2 separate regions of the Homo sapiens genome follow, and region 1 is linked to region 2. Evidence: promoter capture Hi-C in 16 types of primary human blood cells and fetal thymus (Javierre and others, 2016). All regions are on one chromosome and are shown on one strand. Each heading gives the region's core, a stretch centred on a gene start or on the middle of the fragment in contact. The rest is flanking DNA. Distances are from core to core; before and after follow the strand shown. Region 1 overlaps SEZ6L (seizure related 6 homolog like). Region 2 holds the start of MYO18B-AS1 (MYO18B antisense RNA 1).

Region 1 (7,351 bases), core at 1,329-3,828, 410 kb before region 2:
CAATGGGCTAGGAACGCGTAAAATCTGCCTCCAGCAGCCACAAAGCACTGATGTTCCAAGACCCCCATTACAGGAGAGAAAAATTGAGGTCCAGAGAGAGGCGAGAACAGGTGAGCCCAGCCCAAAGTCACATGGGAAGGAGGTGGAATTCTTTCTTAGATTGGCCTGGCCCCAAGTCCACAAGGGGCAGCTATTCAAGCTGTGTAAGTCTCTGACTCCACTGGAGAAGGAGGTTCTGGGACAGCCTCTGGGGACACTTCTTTTTTTTTTGAGACAAGGTCTTACTCTGTCACCCAGGCTGGAGTGCAGTGGCATGATCATGGCTCACTGCAGCCTCAATTTCCCAGGCTCAAGAGATCCTCCCATCTCAGCCTCCCAAGTAGCTGGTACCACAGGCGTGTGCCACCACATCCAGCTAATTTTTATTTTTTTGAAGAGACAGGATGCCTCTATGTTGTTGGGACTGGTCTCAAACTCCTGGTCTCAAGCAATCCTCCTGCCTCAACCTCCCGAAGTGTTGGGGTTGTAGGCATGAGCCACCGCACCCAGACTAAGGACACTTGCTGTGTCTAAGGAACAGCCTCAAAAGCCGGTCACTAATAATTTGAAAATAATTTCTCTTTCTCTTGCAAGGTTCCTCTGTAGAGCCAGAGAACTGTGAGTGCTGCTTCCCCAGGCTGCTGGGTTTCAGCACTCTCTCCGCCCCCAACCACCCTCCCGTCTGCCACCTGGGTCTGTCAGGAACCCTGTATTCTGCTTTCTCCAGGCACCACCGTCTGTCTTTGTCCACTTCTCACCCCCATCTCACATGGGGCAGTGGAAAGAGCATGACTGAGAAGCCACAGAAGCCTGAATTTCAGCCCCGCTGCTCGCTGGCTTTCTGGGTGGCCTCCCTGCACCTCTGCTGCCTTCTCAGACAGTGGGGTTAATGACCTCCCAGGGGGGGTTCTCTGTGAGAATTACCTAAGATAGAAATGCTTAGAGCAGTCACTTTTGCATCTGGCCCAGAGTAGCTGCTTCCCTGCAAGTGTCACCCTCTTGGGGAGCTAGCGGGGAACATTCTGGATGGAGAATCTAATGGTTACCCCCTGTGAATACAGGAAACCCAGCCGCACAGCTAAGTAAGTCCGTTCATTAAAAACATTTTTTTTCATTCAGCAATCATTTCCTGAGCATCTACTGTGTATCAGACTCTGCGTTAGACTGTGGAAACAGAGGGTAGTCAGACCCAGCCCCAGAGGAGAGGACCTTCTGGTCTAGTTGAGGGAGACAAACAGGAAAATAAACAACTGTAGTCCAGTAAATGGGTGTTACAGTGCCCCCTTCTTGCTGGCCACACTGGCCATTTGGTCCTTTGAAAATGAGATGCTTGCCACAGGGCCTTTGCACATTCTGTTCATTTGGGATGCATCACTCCAACTCATCTTTTAGTTCTGAGCTTTAGTATCAGATCCTCGGGGAAGACTTCTCTGACCTTCCTTTTTATATCAAATTCCAGTTAAAGAATCTCATAGCACCATTAACCTCTCCTTACATCACATATTGAAGTTAGAGTATGCAATTATTTGTGTATGTCCTCATTTCATATTTGTTTCCTAGGCTGAATTTCCCAAAGATAGGGACTCTCTCTCTCTCTCCTCTCTCTCTCTCTCTGTGTGTGTGTGTGTGTGTGTGTGTATTTGTGATGCTGTTCTTGGTCTCACTATGGGAATGCCTGTTCTCTGCATAGTCCCGGCACATAGTAGATGCTTAGTTAATATTGGTTGAAAGAATAAAGCAGGAGCAATTTCTTTCTCAATCTCCCAAATTTTGCCAAATTAGAGGGCCACCCATTTTAAACACTCACAACTGGATATCTAAGAAGATCCGTTTCTCTTCTCCCACGTGGATCTTCCAGATACAATCTTCACCTTCCACGTAGGGCTCGGGCCAGTTTGGGGACAATACCACCCCAGCCACAGCAGAGAGCTCCCCACCACACATGGCTGTAAAAGACAGACAGGCAAGAAGACGGACTTTATTTGTAAAGAAGTCAATGTGGCATAGCGGCTAACCATGTGGGCTATGAAGTCAGACAGCCGTGAATCTCTGTGTACTGTGGACAGGTGTCTTCACCTCGGGCAGCCAGCACGTGTGTGTGTGTGCGTGTGTGTGTGTGTGTGTGTGTGTGTGTGTGTAATGATTAAATGAGAGCTGGCCAGCTGCCTACCTTGCACCTGAGGGTTGGTAAAAGTTGGGCTAAGAGGTGCTATTGCTCTTTCAAGACCAAGGACAGAGCTCAGTGGTCAGAATGACTCCTCAACAGCCTCTGCTCTTTTGCGGGGTGAGTAGTGGCTAAGAGACCGCCCACTCAAGTTAGGTGGTCCCGGGGTCCCAATCTTGCCTCTGCTGCTAACAGGCTGTAGGAGGAGGTATGTAATTTCCCAGAGCCTCAGCTCCCTTTCTCTACAAAATGGGGGCAATACCACTGCCAACCTCATTGGGTTATTTTGAGGCTTAAGCTCATGAATGTCAAACATGCTGCACAGTGTCTGGCACATGGTAGCTGCTCGATAATTTAGATAATGTTGCTATGACAGGTCCCGGCCCTGAACTGGAAGCAGAGATGTGGCTGCGGCAGGTGCCCTTTAAATTCTACTCTGTGTTTACCACTTTGGAAAGGTCTCAACATGGCAGAGGCCAAAGCACCAATAAATTCCGCTCTGTTAAATCGGCACATTTAATATAGGGATCAATCCCTCACCATGGCAAGGCTGTGATTTCACACCAACTGCCATTGAGGCGGTGGCTGCCAGGAGTGAGGGCACCTTTCATTACTCCACATGCCAGCAGGAGACCCAGGCTCAGGGTGGCTCAGCAGCCTTGAATATGGGGAAACGGGCCAGGTGCGATGGCTCATGCCTGTAATGCCAGCACTTTGGGAGGCCAAGGTGGGTGGATCACTTGAGGTCAGGAGTTCGAGACCAGCCTGGCTGATATGGTGAAACCCCGTTTCTACTAAAAATACAAAATTAGCCGGCTGTGGTGGCACACGCCTGTAGTCCCAGCTACTCAGGAGGCTGAGACAGGAGAATCGCTTGAACCCGGGAAGCGGAGGCTGCAGTGAGCCGAGCGAGTCTCTGTCTCAACAACAAAAAGAATATGGGGAAACTGGCAGGACAGTCCACTGCAGCCTGTGTAGATGAGGGTTCTACAACACTGTCCAGTGGGGCTCAGAGCACAGTGCTCTGAGAACAAAGAGACATGAGTTCCATTCCTGTCCCTGCCAATTCCCCTTGTGTGTTCTTAGGCAGGTCACTTCACAGCATTAGTTTCTCACCTACAAATGGGGCCGATACAATCTACTTTATAAGGCTATGGTGAGGTTGAAATCAGATAATGCACACACACTCTTAGCAAAGTGCTGGTAGCATAATTATTACACACCAATTAAGAACTATTATTGTTCTTATTAATGAGGTTATTGCGTGGGTTGTGCACTGCACAAGCATGCGTAGCAGAGGGAGTATTTAGGAGCTGAAATCCATGCAGTATTCAGCTCACTAAGCTGTGCACTGTGGGACCTATGCCTGGAAGAAGGTGCACCTTCTAAAATTCACCCATTTTGTAATTTTCTCAAGACCAGCAGCAACCCTGAACCAAAGGACAGTGAACCCTGGAAAGGGTTCTAATCCTAAAGTTGGTATGAAAACTGGGGACAGGCCTCTAAGCTGGGGCCTTGGTCTTCTCATCCAAAGGGTGGAGATCCCTGGGGTGCCGTGGGAAGAGCGTTGTGGATCCGCTCACCTCTGCACAGGGGCTCTGTGTCATTCCAGTATGGGTCCCGCACATTGATGCATTCGATGATGGCCGGGCCCTGCTCCAGGGAGTGGCCGGGGTCGCAGGTGAACTCCACTATAGTCCCAATGTTATAGGTCGGGTCGGATGTAGTGAAGTTCCCATTCTGGATGTAGGGCTCATAGCAGTGGCCTTTCTCAAACGCTGAGGAAGGGAAAGAGAGGCAGCAGTTCAGATGATGCAGGGACTACCCCACGGTGCTATATTTCAGAAGATGGGTCCCCTGTGCTGTTTAGAAAAGCCCCAAAGAAAACAGGTACCAAATTACGTGTCCTGGTTCCAGCTGACGTGTTGAGAACCCTGGGGCCACCCAGTTGACTCCTTGGGACCTCATTTAAAAAAATCTAAAATAGGAGTAAGAATCTCTGTCTTCTCCACCCTGTGGAGTTGTTGTGTTTTAATGCCTTTCCACATCCTATATGGATCCTTCCCATGGCCCGTAACTTCAGAGCCCTGACTTTTTGCCACTGGAAACTGTAGGGCTGTCTATGATAAAAGCCAGCTTTTCTTGGCAAAGCCAGAACAGAAAGTCCCCCAGCGTACATGAAATGCCCAGCGAACCCCTTCTTCAAGAGTCAGGGTCTCAGCAGGAGAGGCTCTTGCTAAATTCTTCTTGGAGGAAGAAGTGGCTAAATTCTAAGAGGTCTACTAGGTGGAGTGGAGCAGAGCTTCAGGGCTCCCCAGCACAGGATGGACAGAAATCTTAACTCCACCCTTGTTCACTGGTGGTCTTGGGCCGGTCACCCAAGTGTCTTAAACCTCAGTTTCCTCACCAAAAATCAGATAGAATAACAGTTCTAATGTTTCAGTGTGATGAGGATCAAACATGATGCAGAAGCTGAAATCCAATCAGACAGTGCACAGAAGGCACTGAGCACGTAGTAAGTGCACAGTTAATGATAGGCATTGTTATTATTAATGAAACCAAGAGCCTGTCTTTGGAAACCAAAGGATCCACATGGCCATGGGATTTCCCACATCCTTCGCAGCCCAGATTTCTATCTCCCCATGCTTTCCCTGCTCCCAGGCTACCCCCAGCCCCACAAGAGAAAGGGAAGCTCCCAGGGACCCTCACCTTCAAATCGGATGTTGAAGGTGGAGGCCGCCCGGGCCTGGTCGGACGTGAACTCGATGCGGATGGTGTTGCCTTCGCTCAGCAGGCCCTCAAAAGGGACACTCTCGGTTTGAAGGGAGTCGTAGAGAAGAGCTGACTTGTTGGTCTGCCCGCTGTGAACCGTCATCCTGGCAGTGGGAGCAGAGAGGAGGGACACTGACAGATCTTCCTGGGTCACTGACATGGCAGAGGAAGGGATGTGCTACGACTGCCTCTGGAGCCTCATTACCGGATCCCAAACCTAACTCTGCCTCTTTTTTTTTGACAGAGTTTCACTCTTGTTGCCCAGCCTGGAGTTCAATGGTGCGATCTTGGCTCACTGCAACCTCCGCCTCCCAGGTTCAAGTGATTCTCCTGCCTCAGCCTCCCGAGTAGCTGAGATTACAGGTGTGTCCCACCATGCCCAGCACATTTTTGTACTTTTAGTAGAGATGGGGTTTCACCATGTTGGCCAGGCTGGTCTCGAACTCCTGACCTCAGGTGATCCACCCGCCTTGGCCTCCCAAAGTGCTGGGATTACAGGCGTGAGCCACCACGCCCAGTCCTGACTTTACCTCTTATGTGCTCAGACAAGCATCACCTTATCGAACCTGTTTCCTCTTCTGTACAATGGGACTAAATGCCTGTCCTGGCTTCCTTATGGATTTATTCTGAGGTTGTAGGGAGAGTAATGTATATGATGTAATAAACCAAACGACGAACTAATGAATTGATGTTGACTATTATTATTAACTGAGAAGTTGGAAATAATGGACTAATCTCATTGCCTAAATGGTGGCTTTTGTAAAGTCAGGCAGACCTGGGTGTGAGTCCTGACTCTGTCACTTCTCAGCTGTGTGACTTTGCACAAGAACACTTCACTTCTCTGAGCCTCTGTTTTCTCATCTGTAAAATGGGTACAATTGCACCTATATCAGAGTGTGGGGCATGGTGGCTCAAGTCTATAATCTCAGCAGTTTGGGAGGCCAAGGTGGGTGGATCACCTGAGGTCAGGAGTTAGATAGTAGCCTGGCCAACATGGTGAAACCCCGTCTCTACTAAAAATACAAAAATCAGACAGATATGGTGGCGCGTGCCTATAGTCCCTGCTACTCTGGAGGCTGAGGCAGGAGAATTGCTTGAACCTGGAAGCCAGAGATTGCAGTGAGCCGAGATCGAGCCACTGCACTCCAGCTTGGGTGACAGAGCAAGACTCGGTCTTAAAAAAAAAATAGTTAACAGGACACGGTAGGTAAGTTTTGTTTATTAAGCATTTGACTCCCACCAGGCTCTGTCTCTGATCCCCATTTTCTAAGAGCACTGTGTGGGAAGTCAAGAGTCATAATTCCCATTTCTCAATTCCCCATCTGGATTTACATTAAGTCTTAAAACACCTTTCAGCCTCAGTGTCCTCAACTGTGAAAGGAGAGACCCAACCATAACGTCGTTCTGACCCATCTTACAGGTGGGCTTTGAGAATATTGCAAAATAAAAAGTGCCCTGAAAAATAAAATGTGTTAAACAAAATGTTGGGTATTTATTTTTATTGTTATTAAAGCTATTTGAAGTTGACTTCTTGCTAGCCTTGGTTTTTTAAAGAAATTATGCAAAAATGGTGAAGAAAACCATATACAAATTAGATAAGCTTCTTTTATGGAGTCATAAACACACATTTTTAAGCCTTTGAGGTTTTTACTGACTCATAAAAATAGTTTATTTTATGCTGCCCAGATGAATTTCTAATGTCACTAAGATGTATAAATGTTGCAGCCACAGTTTGTTTATTTTGCCATGTGTCCAGTATGGCTGAGGCAAGGATGGGGGCTGTGGTAGAGTCCAGGGGGCATTCCAGGAGTGGGAAGGGGCATCTACATAGTCTTCTGATTCCTGATGACTCTGTTATATCTTAGGGGCTGTGTGTTGGGACACCTCTTTCAAAGAACAGAAGCCTTTGGCAAAGAGGGTTGCTCTGGAGGAAAGCTTCAAGATCTCAAAATCTCTGTAGTCTATTAATCTTTTAAAACCAACAATTTTCTAACCATATTTTCTAGAATGTCTGCAATAGTAATACATTTTCTCTCAAATTCTTAATAGTCTATGGTCAAATGGATTTGCAAAATGCTGAATTAAATAAAAATTAAACTTTTTTTTCCCTGCAGGACTTATCAGTGCCTTTGTTAGCTAGTACATATTACGACCTTTCAAGGCAAGGATAGGGTGGGCGCAGTGTCTCCCAAACATGTTTGACCAGAGAACTCACTTTTTTGGGGGCATATTATGAGACTGGAGTTTAGAAAGGGTTCATTTTGAGGAAAATCATCTTAAAATCTTTATTCATGTCCCTCCTCGACTAAAAAGACTTTTATAGGCTCTCTATTGCCTATAAAAGTAGCCTGGCATTCAAAATCCTTCAGGATATAA
Region 2 (6,635 bases), core at 1,372-3,871:
TGAGGCAGGGGCAGGGAGGGGCTGCAGAGAGGCCGCTAGTTTCCCAAGAACCATTAGAAAGAGAGCAAAAGGAAGAAGAGAGATAGAGAAAGTATGAGAAGTTGGAAGTTTTTCTCAATGCTTTTACGTAAGGCTGTGGATGTAGGGTGGGAATCTGAAAAACCACAGAGCAATTTTTAGGGTTGAGGTAGACTTGCCACAGAACTATTCGATATACTTATAATTCTAGATTTCTCCCTCACCATAGTCATTCTGCCTGAATTTCCACTGTTAGACTGAGACTTCTGCTGCCCCCATCATCTCCCTACTAAAATGCTAATCTAAATGCTAACCCTAAAATCTAATAAAAATATATGGACAGGAATAAAAATAGAATAAAACTATATACAGATATAGAATAAAGGATATATTTTAAAGGTGGCCAGGCATGGTGGCTCACGCCTGTAATCCCAACACTTTGAGAGGCCGAGGAAGGAGGATCACTTGGGGCCAGGAGTTAAAGACCAGCCTGGTCAACAAAGTGAGACCCCATCTCTATTTTTAAAATTTTTAAACTTTAAAAATTTAAAATTTAAAATTACCTGGGCATCGTGGCATGCACTTGTAATCCCAGCTACTCTGGAGGCTGAGGTGGGAGGATCCCTTGAGCCCAGGAGGCCAAGGCTGCAGTGAGCCATGATTGTGCCACTGCACTCCAGTCTGGGTGACAGAGCAAGACCTTGTCTCAAAAAAAAAAAAAAAAAAAAAAAACCAACCCAAAAACCTGATCTATCTGGTCTGCCAGCATATGTCAAGGCCCCTTAAATCTACCAGGCCCCATTTGACTTCCAATATTTCCTGACCAATGAACAAACGAATGGATGTAAGTAGAATGAGGATATTCTACATTTCATATTTTAACATATTGTCTGGCTTATACTCTCATATGCCATACTAAAGCATGCTGATTATCAATAAAATGATGGACATTTATACATTCTTGTCCTCATTTGTTTCTCAAGCAGAAAACACAAAGACTAGTCAGTCCTACTGAAAGTCATCCAGGGAATTAATGCCTTGTTAGGGGCCCTCCTGCCCTTCTGTGATGACCACTGGGTGAGAAGCCCCTCCTGGATGTTATGTCACTCTGTTCAGTTGTCTCAGCCTCCTGGCAGTATCACAGGTGAGGAAACCGATAGAGAAGGCTTTGCCAAGCCTCAGTAAGGTGTGACTTTCAGTCACTTCCCCTTGGCCCAAACAGGAAGTCCCATTGTTCCAGAGATCTTGATATGGCAGAAGTGGGCATGGGGTTTGGCCTTTGGTGGCAAGAAAGTCTCGCTTATTATAAGACTATCCAGTGTTCCTTAATACTAGACTATCATTCAAAGTCTCAGACTTCTGAGAGACCCAATCATAATGGAGCCCTCCTGTTGGAACAGCTCAGGAGCTTTCTGATTGGCTGTTGGTGACATCATTCAAGGGGCACTATTTGCTGCCTCTGAATGGAAGCATTGTGATGAGGGTGATGATCCAGCAGTCCCAGTGTGTCAGGTCCTGGGCTGGGATCCATGTCGTCCTTACAACAGTTCAGCAAGAAACATGTTATTCGATCCATTCACTGAGGAGGAAACTGAAATCACTCGGAGAGGAGGAGTGATTCAGCCCCAAATTCCAAAGTGGTAGAAATGGACTTGGGCTTCCCTAATGTCTTAGCTAGTCCCCCATCTACCTGTCCATTCCTGGGACAGGTGAGGTAAGACAGTAGGGACCAGACAGTAACTGATGGTGCAGAGGAGTCCTTGACTTAACAGGCCACTTGATGCCAAAGAATAGCTACTACAAACACCAGCTCCTAGCAAACAGCCCACACTGACCAGCCAATTGCCTGAGGCCAGATAGGTTTGCACACAACCTTCAATCTGTTAAGAAAGGGCCTTGGGTCCAGCCACCCTTGAGTGTGGGAATCAGTGAGTCTAGCACAGGGCTTACCCGGAATTTCATCAGCCCTCAGAACCAAGCTTTGTGACCCATAGGGTAATCATGCCACAAACAATCCAACCAAAATGAAACCATCCCAGGCCACTCTGAACTTAGAAGCCAAAGCGGGAAACAGAGAACTCTACCAATGTGGAGGCATCACTCTATCCTGGGCCCAGCAAACTCAGGAGGCAGCTGCATCTACATTTCGATTAAGCATCGAGAGATGCAAGGAAGTATTACTGACTTCTAAATTTTCCCTTCACCATAGTCATTCTGCCTGAACTTCCACAGTTAGACTGAGACATAAAATGCTAATCTACCTGGAAAGGTAATGCCTGCTATCTGCAATTGGCATCAAAACATAAATTAGCTTCTGCCTAGAGATGGTAACAGAGCAGAGGGCATCACAAGAAAGCTAAGTTTTGAGAGGAGGGCATGCAAATATGAAGAAATAGGAACTTTGCTTGGGGGGTATCCTGGGGAGATTCATAAGTGCCTGGAATGAGGGATTCTGTCCAAAGGGAAAAGGAAAGACCAGACAGATGGAATTTTCTGGCTGCACAAACTCCAGAGGCTGGCCCCTTACTCATCAGAGAGTTGAAACCCTCAGTTAGGCCTCTCAGAACAGGAGTAGAACCCATAGTTGGGGGCCAAGAGGGTCACAGCTGGGAGAAACTTGGGGAATGATGGAGTCCCAACCTCTTGTTTCACAGACAGGGGTATATGTCAGAGCCATTCTTCCAGATCAGATGACCTGTTAAACTGAGACTTCTGCACCATCTGAACCATCAGTCACTCTCTGGCCCAGAGAGGTGGTGTTATTTGCCAAGGACACACAGCAGGTGGCCAAGATGGAGCCAAGCCATTTTCCCCACTGCAGGGGTAAGGTTCAGCCAGAGCACCCACAGGGAGGTGGAAAGGGGAACAGAGTGAGATATCAATAAACAAAAAATAAATCTTTCTTATTTTGGGGATGCAGAGCACGCTAACAATCCCCCAAAGACCTTTGTCAGATGAAGAAGCCAGCTCAGGAAAGCTGTAGGATAAATAAGATAAATAATATTTAATGCAGATCAAGTTCAAAATCTATGCCACCTCCATGGAAATATAATTCTCCTTCCTACTTCTTGGAAAGGAGGCAGTTTCCACAAATTCACATCTTGGCTCACACAGGAACATTTTTCTGTATTTTATCATGGGCCTTCTAAAAGAGGCTGCTTCCCACCTATTTGCCTAGTATGACATCTCCATTAGGACTTGGCTGGCTCAAAACAGGACCCCTGTATACCTTTCCCCTCACCGAGTGAGCTGGAGAACTTTAGACACAGCCAAGGCGTCCAAGCATCACAGGTTCTGAGGTTTTGCATGAAGAAGCCTATGAGTGTGCGAATCTGGGTACAAATCCAGGCTCCACCATCGCCTCACTGTAACAGCAACCCAAAGGGAATGCAAATATGGGAACCACACCGTGCAGATTCAAGATTAGCATCTTGCTGGTGCACAAGGCCCAGTCTCTGCCAGAATGGCTCACGTGATCTGAGAGTCCAAGTCCTAAATGAGAAGGCCATATTTTGGCCTCCTCCTTATTCTCTAGCCCAATTTTCACCAACAGGAAGAGGAACCAGGATCAGTCCACTTAGATGTACTGACTGCATCATTTAGTCCTCAGCACAAGGGGGCGATCTTATCACCAACCTACGGATAAGGAATCTGGCTGGGAAGGACTGAATGACCTGCTCAAGGTCACACATCTAGAAAGAGGCACCTTTAGGACTTGAATGAGATGACTTTTATATCAATGCCTGGGCTCCTAATCGCCATGCTGTCTTGACCGTCTGCAACAAACCCTTCACTCGACAAATGGGGATGTTAAGGCCCAGAAAGGCAAAGAAAGTTCCCCAAGGTCACAAGATCAATTGGCCACATAGTTGAGGCTGGCTAAGAGAAAAGAATAATTTCTTGCTGGATTCTTGGGAGAACCATACAGGAATAAGGTGTGACGGGACAGGGAGGAAGATTAGAGCAAAACAAGGGAGTTGAAGTGAGGGAGTTAGGAGAACCTGGATACCCCAGAAAACGCCAGCTCCAATGTAGCCCACCCTGGCAGCCCAGGTGATGGTGAGAGATGCAACTCACTTCTTCTGCTTCTTCTCCAGCTCATGGTTTCGACTTTGTTGGTTCTCTAGCAGGACGCAGGTATCCTCAAGGTCACAGGTAAGATGGTGGCACTTCCTCTTCAGTTGGTGAGCCATCTTCTTGGCCCCGTCATAAGCACTTTGCAACTCCCCAAGCTGTAAGAGTAATAGAATGAATTACCCGGCTCTGTGGGCATGGAACGAGCTTTTTACTTTGTATTTCAAGGAGTTGCTATTTCCAAGGTGTGTAATGAGAAAACAGCAGATGCTGGAATGGGGAGACCCTGTCTTGACTACCTTCCTCCAGGGTCACCTCCAGGAAGCTACTTTTCTGAGCCTCAGTTTGCTCAGAGGTAAAGTGGGGATAATTCCATCAATCTCTTAAGGTTGATTTTACTTTTGCTCAATAAACCTCCAGCCAATGCACCCACAGACTTTACCTACCCTGCCTCAACTTGATGACCCCTGAGCCACCGGATAACTCATATCCCCACCAGCCGACATGATCAGAAGGGATATGTGAGGATTAGCCACAGAGCAGCCAAAATGACATACCTAGAAAATCTGACCCGGAATCCCAAGTGACAAGCCTTAAAGGTTAAAGCAGCAAATGGCACTTTGCATGGACTGAATTAATACCAGAATGCACACGGCCTTAAACAAACAAAAGTCAAGACTCTTGCATCTTCCTCCAGGAAACACTCTCCCAAATGTCCTAGTTTAGATCTGGGAAAGAGCACGCAACTCAGCACACTGGCTTTGAAGAAATGGCCTCATTAAAAAATTGCTTTAAATAAGCAAAACTCTGAGTTAATGAAGCCTGTAATTCTAAATTCAGTATTTGAAGGCAAATGGGATGTTCTCTTATATTCTGCTGCTCAGAAAAGGTTGCTGTTTTATTACTTTTTAATGTAGCATAAATATCCCCCTTCATCAGGGAAACTGACTCAACTTTATAATTTGTTATTAAAGAACTGGGCTGCTTTCCTGCAGTTGTCCATCTGTGTTTATCTATGGTTCAAGATGTCTCTTGAGGACCACGATGCAATGTTCACCTTGAAAGCGACCACTAAAATCATCACCATCAGCATAGAGGATATCAAGAGTCACTTCCATTGTTTATAAAATCCCATGTGATCTCACCCAGGCCCACCTCTGCAAGGCAATCACATGATACTTTTTGCTCACGTTGAGAATAGAATAGATACACAAATATAACCTCCACCCTATGGCTCCGATATCGAATGGGAGAGACTATGAAGTGAGTAGGTAATTACAATACAACATGATGAGGCCTATGTTTTGGAAGACAACTCAGGGACTCCCAACCCAATCTGCGTCAGCAAAGACTTTCTGGAGAGAGTGACATTTAAGCTAAGATCTTAAGAATAGTTGGAGATATCTAGGCAGGAGAGAAAAAGAAAGATTGCTCGGGGAAGAAGAAATAGCACATGCAAAGTCCCAGAGGTGAGAAAGAATCAGGCATTTTTGGAAGGAGAAGAAAAAAAACTGAGTGTGGCTGGAATCAGTGGTGTGCCAGAGTCAGCTGGTACCGACTTGAAAGAGATGCACAGAGCTAATTCTGTGCATCCCTTTCAAATTCCATGTTAGTGACATCACAATGGTAGTTTGAAATTGGCCATGGTGGGAGTATTTACACCAGGGAAATTGGCAAGTGCTACAAATCAGGGCTTTTTGTTTTTTTCCAGGGAGCCATTTACTAGCACACCATTTGTTAGAGTGTGAACTGGTTAGAATGTAGACGAGGGATAGTTGGAGGCCACAGAAGACAAGCAGAGAGACCAAACTATCTGTACATTCATCTAGAAAGGCTAGATAAAAATATATTATATATAGATAAGATTGCATTAGATTTGTAATGTTACCTTCAAGAAAGAAGGAAATTTCAGGATATCAGAAATGCAGAGGACACAAAGCCCTAACAGTAATGGTACATACTAATATTATGGCGGCCAGGATGAGGGGGAAGAGCAGTTGATAGATCCAGAAGTGTCCTTTAGGATAGAGGTTTGTGTTTCAATGCCCAGACAGAGACAGGAGACAAGGCTCTGGGCTCATGGAAGGTGAAGAGTTGGAATGAAGACCGTTGCATTGACAAACCCCTCAAAGAACTGCATGCACCTCAGTGAGAAGAGAAAATAAAAGCTCCACCTGCTGGCCTGGAAGGTGGTAAGAAAGCTTGCTTTCACCCTGGATCTAGGTGGGGCAAGAAGTACTCTCGTAAGAATTTTAAACCCCAGGTCTAAGCCTCATGTGGGTTTAGAGATCCAATTGACAATTTTTACATGCCGCAAAACATCTGAGACCAAGAATTTAGCATTATCTCAAGGACTGCTGCCAAAGAAAGTGAAAAAGGGTTTCTTCTAGCAGAACACACCCACGACCCTGTTATCAAAGGGCTCCCATCAAAGTCAACAGAATGTTAAAAAAATTAAATCTCCTGCTGAAGGTGAACTCACAATAAAAAATAGCTAAATACACACACAAAAATTCACTGGGAGCGGAAAAAAAAAAAAACAT

The links. Contacts are between HindIII fragments. The CHiCAGO score rates a contact against its expected background, and 5 or more counts as called.
Region 1: a fragment that was not itself captured here is called in contact with the fragment with the promoter of MYO18B-AS1 in region 2 in 1 of 17 cell types (M0 macrophages); the score reaches 5.1 in M0 macrophages.

What each region holds. Positions count from the first base shown.
Region 1 is chr22:26,308,398-26,315,748 of GRCh38, reverse strand. SEZ6L (seizure related 6 homolog like) reads right to left here. Exons shown (of 17, transcript NM_021115.5): 7 at 4,913-5,079; 8 at 3,787-3,981; 9 at 1,847-1,985. Among named protein-coding and RNA genes, the nearest start is that of SEZ6L-AS1, 65 kb to the right of the region's middle. The HindIII fragment of the contact is 7,999 bases long and covers 1-6,577 here.
Region 2 is chr22:25,895,922-25,902,556 of GRCh38, reverse strand. It overlaps MYO18B-AS1 (MYO18B antisense RNA 1), which reads left to right and starts at 2,621. Exons shown (of 3, transcript XR_938086.3): 1 at 2,621-2,841. MYO18B (myosin XVIIIB) reads right to left here. Exons shown (of 44, transcript NM_032608.7): 29 at 4,096-4,250. The HindIII fragment of the contact is 4,296 bases long and covers 2,000-6,295 here.